2 separate regions of the Homo sapiens genome follow, and region 2 is linked to region 1. Evidence: promoter capture Hi-C in human tissues and cell types (Jung and others, 2019). All regions are on one chromosome and are shown on one strand. Each heading gives the region's core, a stretch centred on a gene start or on the middle of the fragment in contact. The rest is flanking DNA. Distances are from core to core; before and after follow the strand shown. Region 1 holds the start of HOXC12 (homeobox C12). Region 2 holds the start of LOC100240735 (a long non-coding RNA gene).

Region 1 (7,480 bases), core at 1,923-4,422:
TGGAAAGGGCCGGACAGCAGATGGGAGGCTGGGGGACTCTTGGGGAGAAGGATAAAAATGAAGTACAGAAAGGTTGATGGTTCTCTCACTGCTCCTCTCTTCCAAGCCAGCCCAGCGTCTACTGGGCTGGGGCTGGGGTCTGAAGGAGTCTGGATGAAAGTCCTTCCCACTCAGAGAAGCCATTCTCAGACCTCCAATGGGTTCTAGGGCTGTGCCCCTCCCTCTGCTCTGGTCCATGTGCTAGGCTGTGGAGGTTTGCAGGCCAGGAGGCGGAGGCAGCCCTTCTGAAGACAAAGGGCAATGTTGGGGGGCGGGCGAGGAAGAGAGAAGGGAGTTGGGTGGGGGGCTGGAGCGCCCCCCTCCTTCATTCTCACGGGCCTGGGAAACTGGGGCTGAGTGGGACCTCAATGGCTGGTAGCCCCTTTAAGGGTGAATTCTCCTCCCGCCTCGTAAATTACGCTGGTCCACCCTCTGGCCGGCCCGTGAGGCAGTGACCGTGAACGCCAGCGGGGAAGGGAGAATCAGAGGCCTCGGCTGTGGCTGTCAGAAATTCTCCCGGCCAATCAGTGTGGTGCTCCGTAGCCCCATCTACAGCCTCTTGCACTTTCTTTCTGGAGAGCCAGCTGGGGACCTCTGGGGTGGCTACTGAACCTGAGGCTGTGTCCCCTGGGCTCTCAGGTCCCTGCTTGCTGCATCAGGCCTGCAGCCACCGCAGGCAACGGAGGAGTGGATGGCAGCACACCTATGAACAGACATTCGCCCGGTGCGGGCAGCGGGATCAGGAGAGGGCTGGGGACCAGGACACTGTTCTGGTCCTAGAGGGAACATGAGGCTGATAGTCCTTGTCCACAGCCCGGCCAGCCAAATGCCCAAGCTTCTGCCCACTGGGTGTCCTGGGGGACCCAGACCCAAGCAGACTCTGGTTCTTGCTAATCATTTTCTCACAAACCACACTTCCTCCTTGGTTCCCCACTTCCTCCAGCCCTACCAGAGACACCTGACTCCCTCAGCTCTCTCCGCTGACCCTCCACCCTCCTCTCTCTTCCCAGCCTCTTCTAACCCCAGGAACTGTGAGGTTGAGGTGCCTTGGTTCCACTGGCCCTGCTCTTTGCTCCTGACGGCAAAGAGAATTAAGACCATGGAAGGGAAGTAGAGGAAGGGGACATCTGGGCCGCTGCTTCTCCAGATCCTCAGCGGAGGTGCAGTGCCCCAGTCCTGCCTCAAATAAACCAGCCCGCAGCACCTCAGCCTTCCTGCCCCTGCCAACCGCAGGCAGCTGCCGGCTTCTGCTCTCCCTGGCTAGGTTTCTTCCCTTCTCTCTGGGACCTGGCAGGGTGTTTTGGGTGTGTATGGGAGGGAACCACGAACAAAACAGACAAGAGGATATCCAGGGAGGGCCTGCCAGAGACGCCTGGCGTTCTAAGTGGGGACTGTGTTCTAGGCGGCGCCCTCTTTTGCTCTCTGCCAGGGACAGGCTCAGTCTGGGGCTGGCGCCCGTGTCCTGCACCTTAAAAGAAGGAGAGAGCTTGCTCCCTCAACAGAAGTCTTTTCTTTTTCATTCTCCGGTTCTGAAACCAGATCTTGACCTGCTGGTCACTAAGATTCAAGCGGTCTGAGAGTTCCCTCCGGCGCTGGCGTGTGATGAACTCGTTGACCAGAAACTCGCCCTCCAGCTCTGCCAGTTGCAACTTCGAATAGGGCTTGCGCTTCTTCCGAGAGCGGCTGTTGATCGGGTACCAGGGCGCGCCTGGGTGGAGATGAATGGCAGGGGTTGGCCAAAGGATCAAAGGGTGACCAGTCCAGTGCCCTTGGCCCTTCCCCAGACCCTTTCACCTTCGCCTCACAGCTGGACTCCAGGCCCTTTCTCTCCCTTCTCCTTGCCGCCAGTCATCTGAATCGTCTTTTCTACCCAGACCCACATCCCCACCAACTCCCCCACTTTCTTTACTCTTTTTTTTCCTTTCATTCTTTGCTCTTACCTCCTCAACCCTACCTCCTGCTGCACTATTCATGACCCTTCTAAGTCCCTATCCCCTCCTTTTTTCCCAAACCTCTCCCCAATTTTCTTCTTCCCTATTTCCTGGTCCCTTCCTCTCACATCCTTCAGGACTGGATCCCGGATCAGTTACAACAGATATGGGCGAATGGCAGAGTAAACGCATCCACTGGCATTTCTTTCGAAATGTAAGTAATGGGGTCTGTGGGAAGGTGGAGGGAGAGGCGCCTGGGAGAACTAGGGCCGGGCTTTCTGTCCCCACCTCCTCACCCCCAGGCCTGGGGAGTCCCCGTCAGGATCCCCCAACTCCGGAATCCCTGCCGCCTCCAGCCGCAGGCAGACGAAAAAGGAACACTCTCCATTTCTTTTGTGGGGATGTTTACATGTTTATAGGCTCCCCCCACCCGCACTTCATTTTATAAGAAGCTCTTCCTCGCCACACATTCTGTCACCCTGGGCGTCCCTAGCTCAGTCCTGTTCTGCCCGCCCTGGTAAGAGGTCGGGTTTGAATCCGCCGCTTGAGTGGCCGGGGTCCTTACCGCTGGCCGAGAGCCCGCCGCCGGGGTTCAACGGCGATACCAAGCTGCCGGGGTCGCCTGCGCCGGCGCCCTTGTTGCCCTCGTTGAGCAGGGACGAACTGGAGTCGGATTCCAGCGACTGGCAGGAGGGCGGGTCGTGCGGAGGTCCTGCGCCGCCGCCGCCGTCGCCACCGCCGCCGCCCGCCGCGTAGTCGTACTTGAAGCCGAGCGCAGGCGGCCCCGACGGCTCCAGCGGGAGCAGCGCTGCCCCGGGCCCGGCTCCCGGGTCGCGCCCGCGCTCCTCACGCTTCAGGCCCCCGCCGCCACCCTCGGCGCACGGCTCGCGGTAGTAACCCTTGCCGTCCTCCACGCGCGCCAGCTCGCACGTGCGGCCGAAGGGAGGGTTGAGAGACACTGGGCTGCCGAGGTAGGGCTGCGGGTAGCCATTGCACGGCTCCGCCGACGGCCAGGACAGGGAGCACACGTTGTCGCGGCGTGGGTAGGACAGCGAAGGCAGCCCGGGAAGCTGCGCCCCGGACGCGCGGAAGTTGGGGAAGTAGAAGGTGTCTCCCGTGTGGATGTTTACCAGCGGCCCCACAAACCCGGGATTCAGGAGATTATGCTCGCCCATTTCCGCGGGGCCCGACCGGCAGCTTCTACTTTATTGCTATCTGACATTAAACATAGTTAAATCTGCACCAGTCACCCATTGGCCGCCCCACTCACGTGGGCACGGCCGCCAGGGGGAGGGGTGGGGACAACCGATCCCCCCCCCCCACCATCCCATCCCGCACTCTAACTTCCCCCTTCCCCAATCCTGGGGGTGAGTGGGGTAACAAAGGGCGGGGGCAGGTTTATTTGCTGAACTGATTTTCTAAAACAATGTATATAACCTAACGCAGAGAGTAAAGCAATTGCCCAACACGGGGCAAAAGGGAAAAAACACACACCAAAAAATGCCCGCATATATACACCCCTATAACCTGCACCCCCCCCCATATATTATCTTATCGCCAACAGCTGGCCAAGCACAGCCTGTCCCTCTTTAATTAGCTTCTTTATTAACTAAAACCGTTGGAATTTACAATATCTCCTCAATAAATTACTATTAGATATTGTGTCATATAAAGTTTACTGACTGTTTAAGGAGACGGATGAGCCCTTTGGCTCGGGGTTTATTTACAGTAGAGGCGAAGTGGGGGTAAGGACAGGTTTCCCTGCCGTTATCTCTTCCCGCCCCAGCTGCTGCTGCACACTTCTTTATCAGCTCTTTATCCTCAGGAATTTGGAGAGACATTTGGAGTCCTCTTCCCCAATACTCAAGGATAATTGATAATGCCGGGTTTTCCTCTGGAGCCGGGAGCCACCCAGCCTCACACCTCCACTCACGGCTAGAGGAAGGATGCGGAAGGGAGGTAGAGAATGCAGCAAAAGGAGGTGCCTAGCTCCACATGGACCTGCCTGCCTGCTCCTGAAAATCTGGGGGCGAACTACTCTTCTGCTGTCATTTCCGGGGAACTGAGGAGCTTCTGGGGGCCTCCTGGAGTCTTTGCAGTGGGAAGCTTTGGACCCCTAACAGGGCTTGACTGGGCTGAGAGGGGCCTAATTCTCACTGCGGAGGAGACAACTGCACCCCAGAACCGGCCAAGCCTGCCCCTGGGACCATCAGATAGCAGTGCAGAGGCCCGCAGTAGGTTGCCTCCTGAGGGGGCTAGGATTGAGGGAAAAAACCCTTGAAGAATTATCTTATTGGGGGGTGAAATTATATTTATGGTGCAAACTCAGAAGCTCCCTCCAGAGAAGGCCGAGAAGCAATGCTGGCCATTGGTGAGATAATCAACATCTGCAAAACCACAATCCGATCTCAACTAGGTCCACAGAACACAGCCAAGCGGATTAAAAAGAAAGACAAAATAAAACTCCCCCAAACCAGATGTATCCTTTTGGGGTCTAATAGAAAAAACACTCGAATTTCCATGTGATTATTTCGAGCTTCTAACCAATGCATGGCTTAAGTAATACAGGGTTGGATAAATAGTTCAGTAAACGTCTAAATACGAAAAAATACCAGAAGATTGAAAGAAAATTGGAGACAGAGATTCGGAGAGAATGAGAAAGAAACCCATTTAGGTGAAAGTTAAATATCAGAGAAAGCCTGAGAATAAGCCAAAGCTGCAAAAGCAGATCGAAGCAGAGAAGATTCTCCCTTTTTTTCCTCTCCCTCCCCTCTCTCCTCTGCAGGACGCGGCAGAGAGAAACGCAGATTCTTTGAATTCCACCGCTCCCCGGGCGATTTCATATCCCAAACCGTAGCTGCTCACTCCGACAGAAATGTGTCCCCGCGGGCGCCGCCCTGCCCGGAGCAGTTCGAAGCTCGCAGCTCGGTGCCTGTCCCTTGCCCTGCTTGGCCGGTTCCCCTTCCCCGCCCCTGCTTGCCTAGCTGCCCGGCCTGGTCCAGCCCCTCCCGCCCCCAGGAGCCGGCCCCGCGTTAGGCGCACTTGTCGGAACTTAGGGCAAGCCATGGGCTGCAAACCCGAAGCCGCCACCTTCAGTTAGAGCCGGTGGCGCCAAGGAATGAGCAGGAGACTCAGCCTGGATTGGCCTTTTTGTGCCTAACTGATAAGGGGCTGGGAGGCTACGGAGAGGAGCATCTCTCAGCTGCAAATTCCAGGTCACAGCATCTGTAACATCTTATTTCCCCTTCTCAAGATACATTGATGAGCGCCATTGAAATTTTAGTTTTTAAAAAACATTTTATTTGAGGGTTAATTTGGTCATAAAGATAAACAGGGTGTGACATTAATATTGCTGTTGATTTCAATCAGAACATCGTGCGGGCAGCTAGGTCTGCGCCCAGGCTCTCCAGGCCTCTGCGCTCAGCCGCTATTGTTGGTGTGAGGGATGCCGAGCTGGGCTTTGCCAAATAATCACTAGCCTTTGAGGGGTGGAGTATTCTCCTCATTCTCTTTTCCCTTCCCAGATAATTCCAATCTCCTAGAAGAGGGACCCCAAGAGGAAGGTCTCAGCCTCTCCCCATTCCCTCCACCCCAGCAGGCAACTCCCAGGCCGGGAGCTCTGCTCGCTGCCCTCCCAGGCCAGGCCGCTGAGCGTGAGGAGCAGCGGCCACAGGGCGGCGGATGCAACGCAGGAGAAATGAAGATTGGGTGAAGGCGTCCTTCTTCCAGGCACGCATTTCTTCTAGCCTGATTTAGCCTCATCAAAGAGGGCCGTTTTCCCCAGGTTTTGGATTCGGCGGGCAAAGAAGCACGCACAAACCCCTCTTTCTTCTTTGCAGCTGACCCTGATTCCTCTCAGGGAGAGCTGTCGACAACCACTAGCAAAATTCGCATCCCCGGTGTCCTGCTCCCTGAGACCCACCGGGAACCTAGGGGTTTTCAGGACTCTGGCAAGGACCCAGGTAATCTAAGCGTCCAGCCTTCCGGTGCACCACCGAGGCTCCGTTTGTGGTTAAGGAACCCCGCGACACACGCAACTCAGGCACCCGTTTTTTAACCGGGCTCGGACAAAAATGCAGCTCCCAGTCTGGGTCCCCGGGGCCGGCGGGAGGCTCGGGTGAGACGCTTAAAATCTAAATCCAGCCTCGGCGAGAGCTGTTCGCCGGGAGCAGGCTGGGGCTGGGCGAGGGACTCGCATCCCAAGGAGTCGGGGCAGCCGTGTCTAGCCGGGCTTAACCCGCCGGCACTTCGCTGACCATGCGCAAAACTATAGGTGGTCAGGCCGAGGCACCCAAACCGTGGAGCGATTGGTGCGAACTCTCCCGTACATTTATCAGATCACAAGGCTAGAGCGGTGGCCTGCCTGCTGGCCCCTGGGCCACTGGCTCCCGCCGCAGCTGGCCAGGCTCTACTAAGCCTCGCTCATTAACTCGGGGTTAATTAAAGCTGAAAGCAAGGATGTGGTCCAAGGCTTTCCTTGAAGACCAAGGCAGCCTGTGTCCCTCAGCTCGTCCTCCAGCTGGATGCCCCGCCGCCTCTCTCACACCTTCTCTGTGCCTCCATCCCTCCTGCATCCTAGCAGCCTCCACTGCGGCTGAGCCCAGCGAAAGGAGTTAATTATAAAATCTACGCTGATTCTGGTGGGAGAGGCAACGTGGCTGCTGGCGGCTTAGACCGCGGGGAATCGGCTGTGAGTGACTGCGTTTTGGCTCCCCCGCCGACCCGTGGTCGGGAGTGATTCCGCGCAGTGCTGCCTTACCCCTGGTCTGTCCAGAGGCCGCAGCGGCCCAGTTCAAGGTCACTGTCTAGTTTGCAGAAAGCGGTTCTGCCTCGTATGCAAATTAGGCCGGGACTCAGCACCAGCAGGGGTGTGAGCAGGGATTTGGCCGGCGGAGAGAAGGGAAGATGAGAAGGGGGCTGAGTGGGAGGGCCTGCCCCCTTCCCTGCCCCCCGCCCAACCCTGCAGCCCTGTCTGCCTTGCCCCTTCGGGGCAACTTAGGCTTGGGACCTGACTTTTGTCGGGTTCAAACAAGGCTGGGGGGTAGAGTAGGGAGCTCAGTCTCCTATTTCATGGCTTCCAGGCTCCTTCAGGGGTTGGGGCCCACCTGGCTCCCAGCCCTCCCTGCCGGTGCCCGGGAGGTAAAGAGCAGATTGGGAAATCCCTTCCCCAGGTGCTGCTTTCTAGGGATTTGCAGCCTGGAGGAGGGAGGCTTGTAGGAACGCTCAGTGACGGAGCCCAGTAAGGCTTTTAGGCTCAGGCAAGTAGCCTGGGGCCAACGGAGCCCCTACCTTCTCCAGTTCTCCCGCGGCTTCTCTAGTCCTCTGTCACCAAAAGATTCCAGCCCGATTGCCTCTCAGAAAATGCGGGGGAAGTGAGAGCCCCCAGGCAAGGACATCTGGGAGGCCATCTCTCCACCCCAACCTGAGCATCCCTAAATGGACCACCTTCCCCCGTTTTGTGTTTCCTTCGGTGGCGCGCTAACAGTTAAATAGGGCCGCAGCTCTGACAT
Region 2 (7,480 bases), core at 1,785-4,284, 130 kb before region 1:
TTACCCCAGACTTGCAGATAAGCACAAGCCCACTGGAATTATTTCCCAGGGAGGAACACAGTCAGAAAGGGTAGGAAGGGGACTTCAGTACAGACATTACTTCCAGAGGCCATTAAGTTCATTCCTCTGCTTCCCAACCAGAACCTGGAAGAGATCCATTAGCTTCCTTGGCTGATTTCTCCTAACAGCTACCACCCCCTGAGCTTCTAAACAGTGCCATATTGCCCCTCTGTTCTTCATAAGGCCAGAGGACCATTCCTGCCAAAGTGACCTCAGAGCCTGGACTCTGGATTTCTGGGGTCTCTCTGTTCTCTGCTCCCCATTCTGCTATTTACATACGAGGTCCCCTGTAGGAGGGCCTGGTGCTAGCTGTCCCGGCGAGATGTGGACATCTTTCTGGCTCTTCTCCTTCTCTTATCTAAGTCCTCACACAGTGGGAAAATACCTCTCCAACGCTATGTAGAAAGAGAAGCAGGGAGTGCCCCTTCTAGCGTGCATGCCTTTGGTTCCCAGATCTGGATTTGAGGGGCTGGCTCTATTTCTTAAGAAGACATTTACCTAGCATCGATCATGGAGATCGGGCCTAAATAGGGCTAGGGAGGCACACCCAACTCCAGACCCAGCTCTCTGCTGTTCCCCTTCCCAGTGCACACGATCCCAAATTCCCACTCCAGAAAAATTTTTAAAAACATATCTTAAAAAAACCTCGAAGAGCCAAGCAGACCCTCAGCTTCAAGGTATCTCCTCATTCCCTCTCTCTCTCTCTCTCTCTCTGTCTCTCTGAATCTACAAAGAAGGAGTGAGTTTTGTCTCTCCAAGTACTCAGAGCCTTAGATCACAAAGGGGCCTTAGATTCTGGTCTTTAGGAGATCTTTAACCACCATCTCTGCTGTGGCACGACCTTTTTCAAAATGCTAGAAAGAAGAGAGACTGGCTCTTAGACCAAGGGGATTTGGGATTCGAAAGGACTTCCAATTCCAGTTCTATAGATTTCCTTCCCATTAGCCTCTTCATGTGCATCAAATGTAAATGGCAGGCTAAACCTTCAGGATGAAGAGAGTTGAAAGACTGCTGCCTAAAAATACCCTTGTCCAAATCTGTGGGTGCAGAAGCACATTGAAAAGCAGCTACCCAGCCTGGGGGTGTGGCACATGCCTGCAGTCTCACATACTTAAGAGGCTAAGGTGGGAGGACTACTTGAGCCCAGGAGTTTGAGGCTTCAGTGAACTATGATGGTGCCACAACACTCCAGCCTGGGAAACAGAGCTGGACCCCATTTCCAAAAAAAAAAAAAAAAAAAAAAAAAAGTAGTTACCCAAGTAAGGTGGATGATCAAGTACACCCAGTGAGAAGCACACAAACCTTACCCTTTACCCAAACTCTCTCCCTTACCTGGCCCATTTCCGGTCTCTAGAGGAGGATCAGTTAGGGGGTGTGACCCAAGTTACCCAGATAATTAACGGTGGAAGCACGAGTTGTTTTTTTTTTTTCCCACTCCTTTGGCCTCTAAATATGAGAGATCTTTACATCTCTTGCCTAGCTCCCTCTTATTCTCTACCCTCTCCCCAACACGCACACAAATCCTAGCAACAAAAAATCCCAAATATAGGAAGACAAACCTTCCTGACCTACCATTTTGGCCCACCTGCAACCCCTGTCTCCCGCCCCCCCCCCCCAATTTTTTTCTCTCCTGAGCCTCTGCTCTTCGCTTCTAAAATAAAATAAAAAAAAAGAAGAAGGAATTTTCAATAGTCCCACTTGTCAAGCGAAGACCATCTTTTAACCTTCAACAGCAGCGAAAGCCGTGTGAACTCTCGGTGAACCAAGATTGAAGTCATAAATCACGCGTACAAAGGCGGCTGCGGAGGCTGGCGCGAGCTGCTGCACCTTTAACGCTTTCTGGGGCTGACAGGCGGCGGCCCAGCTAAAGTTCACAGCGCCAGGGGAGGGCCCGCCTCCGCCTCCCCTCCCGCCCCCGCCTCCCCTCCCCCAGCCCGGCCCCGGCCCCGGCCCCGGCCCCGGCCCCGGCCCCCGGCCCCGGACCGGCCCGCCGCACGGCCGCCTGAGCTGCGAGCTGAGGAGGCCCCTTGGCTGTTCCCGCAAAGGGCGGGGGGCTCATTTTCTCTACTGCCAGCCCGCTCCATCCTGGTCGTTTATTCCTTGCCTTCCCTCACCCCCCACCCACACAGCCTGCTGTATGTAAATAGGCAAATAGATCTACACGGACACAATAATTTAGCTCGTTTGGTCTTTGGCATTTTCTACAAGACCCCAAGAGATGGACTTTCCTTTCCCCTTCCTCCTTTTAGAAATGGCATCCTTCATCTCTGTCTATGCAGGCCCAATTATCCAGATCCTCGGGGCTCCAATAGGGTCTGAGTCATTGGAACCAGGAACACCTGGCTGAAACATGCCACATAATTAGATTTTCTTTTTCTTTACCTTTTCTTTCTTTTTTTTATAAGAGGGCCAGAATTAGCCTCTTCGACTGGGGCAGAGTAGCTGGGGTGTGGAAAAGGAACACCTTCATACAACTTCCAGCTTTCAGCCCCTTGGAGAGATCTCCAAGTTCCCCCGAGCCGCCAGGACTTCCTTTCCTCGATCTCTCGGCCGCCTTCTCCTCCTTCTCCGATCGTTTTTTTTCCCCTCCCCCCACTGTCTTCTCTACGGTTTAATTAAAGTTCAGCGACTCCACTTGCCTCTCCTCTCATTTCTTTCGGAAAGCGGAAACCAGACGACCCAGCGGCCACGGGACGAGCCGCCCCAACTCAACCCCAGCAGGACGCTGGAGGGGCCTCCCTCGCCCGCCTGTCTTCGCCGGCGCTGGTCTCCCGCACCCGGGTCTGCAGTCCCTCCGCCATCTCGCAGGTGTGCAGCCGCTAGGCCTGGGGGATCCGAATGACTGGGGCTGGATAGGAATGCCTTCGTGTTTCCCAAGACCCCCGGGCCTGCTCCACAAAGTTTGAAGGGTGGGTACACCCCGACCCAGGCAAGTTGCTCCCCCAAACCCATGACTGACTAATCTGATATGACAAAAGCCCATGATGGATTTGGTATATGTTAATTCACAATGCCCTTTCCTCCAGAATTTAACTATAAGTTAATACACACCGGAAACCACGCGCATACACGCTCCTTAATGGGCTTAGGTATTAGCGAGTCCTAACGATGCATACAAATGTGCTCTGCGCTCTGTAGGCCCCTCAAGATTTATGGGCCTTGAGCTCTCTGAAGCTGTAAACAAGGAGAAAAAAAAAAGAGAAAGCGAAAGCGACTGGGGGGAAGAGACAGAGGCCTGACTCGCCCCTCCAGGTTGTGGGAGAGAAGGGATTCTTTACGTATTTTCCTTTCCTTGCAAGCTCGGTGCGTGTGGGTTTTGGCGTTGGTCTGGGGGTGGTGTTCTGCCTGAATGCTGGTGTGCATGGGCAGTGTGTTGTTTGGGTGCTGGGGTAGGATGCCTGCCTCTTCGGATTGCTGTGCAGGGGCCTGAACACAGCAGGCATTTGTGAGCATATATGCGTGAGTGTGCACTGTGTTAGGGTGTGTGTGTGTGTGTGTGTGTGTGTGTGAGAGAGAGAGAGAGAGAGAGAGAGACAGAGAGAGAGAGGCAGGCTTCCCCCTGGGCCAGGCTGCTGTCCCCTGAACGGTGGTGAACAAATCTCTAACAACAATCATAATAACAATAAATAATGAATAATAATAATAAAACAGTAGTTAACAGTCCCTCCATAACAGAATAACAATAAAATGCAAGAGGAAATATTTTGAGGTGGAGACAGAAGAAGGAGTCAGGATCACAGCATCTGAGGGGGAGATAGGAAAGGAAGGGAGGAAGAAAGCTTCTTAATATGCTCTTGGCGGGGCTGGGGTTGGGAACCCCTTTCCCAGACAAGGGACAGAAGAGGGGAAGGAGGGCCAGGAGGCCACTCTTTATTGCTTTTTTTCTCAGGCTTCTGCTTTGTGTGATCAGGGAAGGGATCCCACATATGGGGATGGTTAATGGCTTTTGGGACTCTCTAGGAGCCCCTGTTTTAAGAAGGAGGCCAAATGTGCAGGCTCAGGCCAAGGGGCAGAGATGAATGAGGCGATGACCACAGCCTTGATCCGGCAAGAGCTCAGAGATGCCCGGGAAGACGGGAAGACTGGGGGCCCGAACGGAAGCAGAAAAACACTTATGGCCGCTGGGGAGTTGGGAGAGCCAGGCTGGGGCTTCGGCAGGCCCAGGGAAAGTTCCCTTTCTAGGCTCTTTATTAAAAAATTTAGAAGGAGGAGTTGAGGCGCCTTGAATTTTCCTTCGCGAGTTTGGAGACTAGCCGATTTTTCATGAAGCAAGCAAAGACCGCGGTCCCGGATCCGGCAACATCTACCTCATTCTCTCCAGGTACAGTTTTCTGGTCATTTAATTAGTTTGTTTTCTTGGGGGAGATGGGAATCACAGGGGTAGAGATAGTAAGTTTGCTAGAGAGGAAGCCACCCCACAGTTTCGGGTCTAACGAAATCCCTCCTTTAAAAACAATTGTACCCCCAATAAAAATAAAATTAAAGAGGAATATAGAAACACAAATTAGCCAACTTTTTTAAAAGAGAAAAAAGAAAAGAAAATCATCATAACAGATGAGCGTGAGAACTTCTAAAAAATTTGTCACAAACCCTTTCAGAGGTCTGGATTCTTTTTCAGTAGCCGGTGACCCATTTGGTCTGAAAAGAGAAATACACTATCCAGTGAGTCACTTATTTAAAGCCAGCACGCGCACACACACACACACACACACACACACACACACATATATTCAGAAAGCCCTGGGTTCCTTCGCATTTGAGAACAACACCGGGTGGAGGACGCTGCGATACCTAATCGGACAAAACAGCAATAAAATAAGACCGGTGGAAGCGCTGAGCGCAGGGTGCAGGGCTAGGGCCCAGGTTTTGTGTTCCAGGCCGCCGGCGAGGCAGCGGCCCCGGGCGATGGGGCGCCGGGCGATCAGGCACCGGCTGGGGACTCCGCTCGGCCTCCGCAGCCTGGCCTGCAGCCCCTTTCCCCCAGCCTCTGGGCCTCGTGGGCTCTCTCCGCTCCGACGCCTGGTCGGGGCTTCCCTGTTGAGAGGGTTTTAGGCCGAAGGGCCAAACGACTCAAGCCAGACTCTGCTTTTTCATTTTTCTCCCTTAGGCCTCTCCACTTGCCCGAGCTCTCAGCCACCAGGAGACAGAAGGAAGGGACTTCTGGGCTGCGTTGGGAGCGGGCACTGTCCCCTATCTACTCCTGCTCGGTTTCCCAAAGTCCAGCGACATCCGACCCTCCTGGGGGGAAAAATACCAGTACCCAGACACCTCTGCACCCTGTTATATGACTGGGCTTGCTTCAGGAATATCTTACAAAGAAGAAGAAGAAGAAGAAGAAAGAACAGCTTGGAGTCATGTTTACATCTAGTTCTACTGACCGGTTCCCATCTGGAGAGTTTATTTATAACTCCCTCTATAACTCTCTGTTTGGAGGCACTGGTGGCTCTATTGACAGACTGATGTCTAGGAAATATTGCTCTATGTCTAACCGTACCTAAATGTGCTGTGGTTGTATTTACAGATTTATGTTTGAGGGAAATATAATTATTTCCATTGTATTTGTGCATATACAGTAGTTATAGGAGCAGATTTATATATGGGAAAATATACGACTCTCTTACAGCCATCCGGCTTTATGTACATGTGATATCCTGACAGATTTATATCTCTGAACAGCTATATAGATAAAAACGTATATTGTTAGAATTATGTATCAGGAGATATATACTTATTGATTGTGAAATAGAGTAGTTAGAGCATTCACTTAGAGCCATATATGGCTATGGAGATATTTCTATATTATTATCACTATATATAGGCATATCTATTTATAACTACATAGTTATAAAAATAGACATAAATAATTATAGTCCTATATGTGCATGCTGCAATCTCTCTCTAGAGTTATAGACACTTTCAAATATAACTCTATAGAGAGATCTGTATGTATATAAGGTGTAATTATCTTGTGATGTTTTTACGTTGGGACTTAGGCCCGTTTGTCTAGAACAGACATCTTTATATGTAGGGGATGGGAGAGACTTGTTCACAGATATCTGCAGAGGGCCAACTGGAAACACTGTATCTGCCCTCTAGGAAACCAGCTAGGAGAGTTGTGTACTTATGGAGGGATGGAGTTACAAAAGGGTAAATAGAGCTCAGGGAGCCTTAAGGAGGGGAGGTGAATGGAGGGTGGGTGGGCTGGGTTTGAACAGATAGTGGGAGGAAAGGGGTAAACACCAGCACCCACCAGAAGGCGAGAACCGGTTTTGTGAGGGGCTGGCGCAGACGGCTGTGGACAAGGAGCTTGTAAAATGGGAAGCGGCGAACAGTCCCACCACCTCACCCTGAGACACTCTCCACCGAGGAAGCAGCCTTCAGTTTGGCTTTTAGTGCGCTGTAGGATAGGGACTGTCGTGTCCCTCCTGTAGTCCTAGAGCGTTTCTGTTGAACCCTAATTTTTAGGTCTCAAAGAGTGGGCTTCAGAGATAAAGAGGTTTAGGCAGGGACAGGGCGAGGAGCGTGGGGTGTACTTTCACTTTCCGATAAGTGAGGTAATCCAGGAAAGTGAGTTAATTTGGCCAAATAAAGCTTGTTTTTATCTGGGCCTCCTGTGCCTTGGCGGGGATGTAGGATGGGACCAGAATCTAGTGGACTGAGGAGTGAATTTGCAAGTATTGGGCCTGCTCTGATGGGGGCTTGGGGAGGTTGTCCTCACCACCCGCCCTCCTTCTCTGAGGCCTGAGTGGCCTAATTCCCTCTGGGCACAGAGGGACTCCTTCAGCTCCCTAACAGTGCTGCCCTGGGTCTTTTCAGGGAGAATTTGAGTTTAGGAACAGGGAACGTGGACTTACCCCACTAGATCTCACTTCTCCCACTCACAGCTACACCACTCTTACATCAGCCTCCTTCCAGGCACCGCTGGGCCAGGGGTCCCCAATTCTTCCCCTGCTGCCAACCAGCCCAGTGGGGAAATACCTCCCACGACTGCCAGTTTTTGTGGTTTTTTGTTGTTGTTGTTGTTGTTGTTTTTAAACAGGGAGTTACAGATAACTTCGTTGAATGTGTGAAGGAATTATCCTGAACTCAGTCTCCGTGGCCAACCTGGCCTCCAGGATCTCTAGGATGCTAGGAAGGGAGTGGAGACCCTTGGACCAGGCTAACCACCATGTGCCACCCTCCACACACCCCTGCCCACGGGACTAGGAATTCCTGCAGTGCAGGGACTCTGTCTGCTGTCTGGCACAGAATGGTTGCCCAAACATACTTCTTGAGGTAAACGGAATGGCAGTCAATATAAAAACTCACCCTCCCTCTGCACACCACCATAGCCACTGCAGGCTAGCAGGCACCCTAGCCAGGCTGGGAGATAACATGGCGGCTGGCAGCAGCTTGGGCTTTGACCGGACCGGTGGTTAGT

Evidence for each region. The method cuts DNA at HindIII sites, captures the fragments that hold promoters and counts their contacts. A contact is called where the count stands out against the background at its distance.
Region 2: a fragment that was not itself captured here is called in contact with the fragment with the promoter of HOXC12 in region 1 in 3 of the 25 tissues and cell types used here (H1 embryonic stem cells, neural progenitor cells and thymus).

What each region holds. Positions count from the first base shown.
Region 1 is chr12:53,950,595-53,958,074 of GRCh38, reverse strand. HOXC12 (homeobox C12) reads right to left here and starts at 3,172. Exons shown (of 2, transcript NM_173860.3): 1 at 2,536-3,172; 2 at 1-1,747. The coding sequence starts at 3,145. The coding sequence ends at 1,509. LOC105369775 (a long non-coding RNA gene) reads left to right here and starts at 1,648. Exons shown (of 3, transcript XR_944977.2): 1 at 1,648-1,733; 2 at 2,108-2,184; 3 at 3,796-4,690. RefSeq lists an enhancer at 5,946-6,533. The HindIII fragment of the contact is 7,954 bases long and covers 2,476-7,480 here.
Region 2 is chr12:54,077,128-54,084,607 of GRCh38, reverse strand. All of the region lies in intron 1 of FLJ12825 (a long non-coding RNA gene), which reads right to left. It overlaps LOC100240735 (a long non-coding RNA gene), which reads left to right and starts at 2,785. Exons shown (of 3, transcript NR_026658.1): 1 at 2,785-2,969; 2 at 4,264-4,381; 3 at 5,168-5,769. RefSeq lists an enhancer at 3,252-3,471 and a silencer at 4,769-5,063. The HindIII fragment of the contact is 4,422 bases long and covers 824-5,245 here.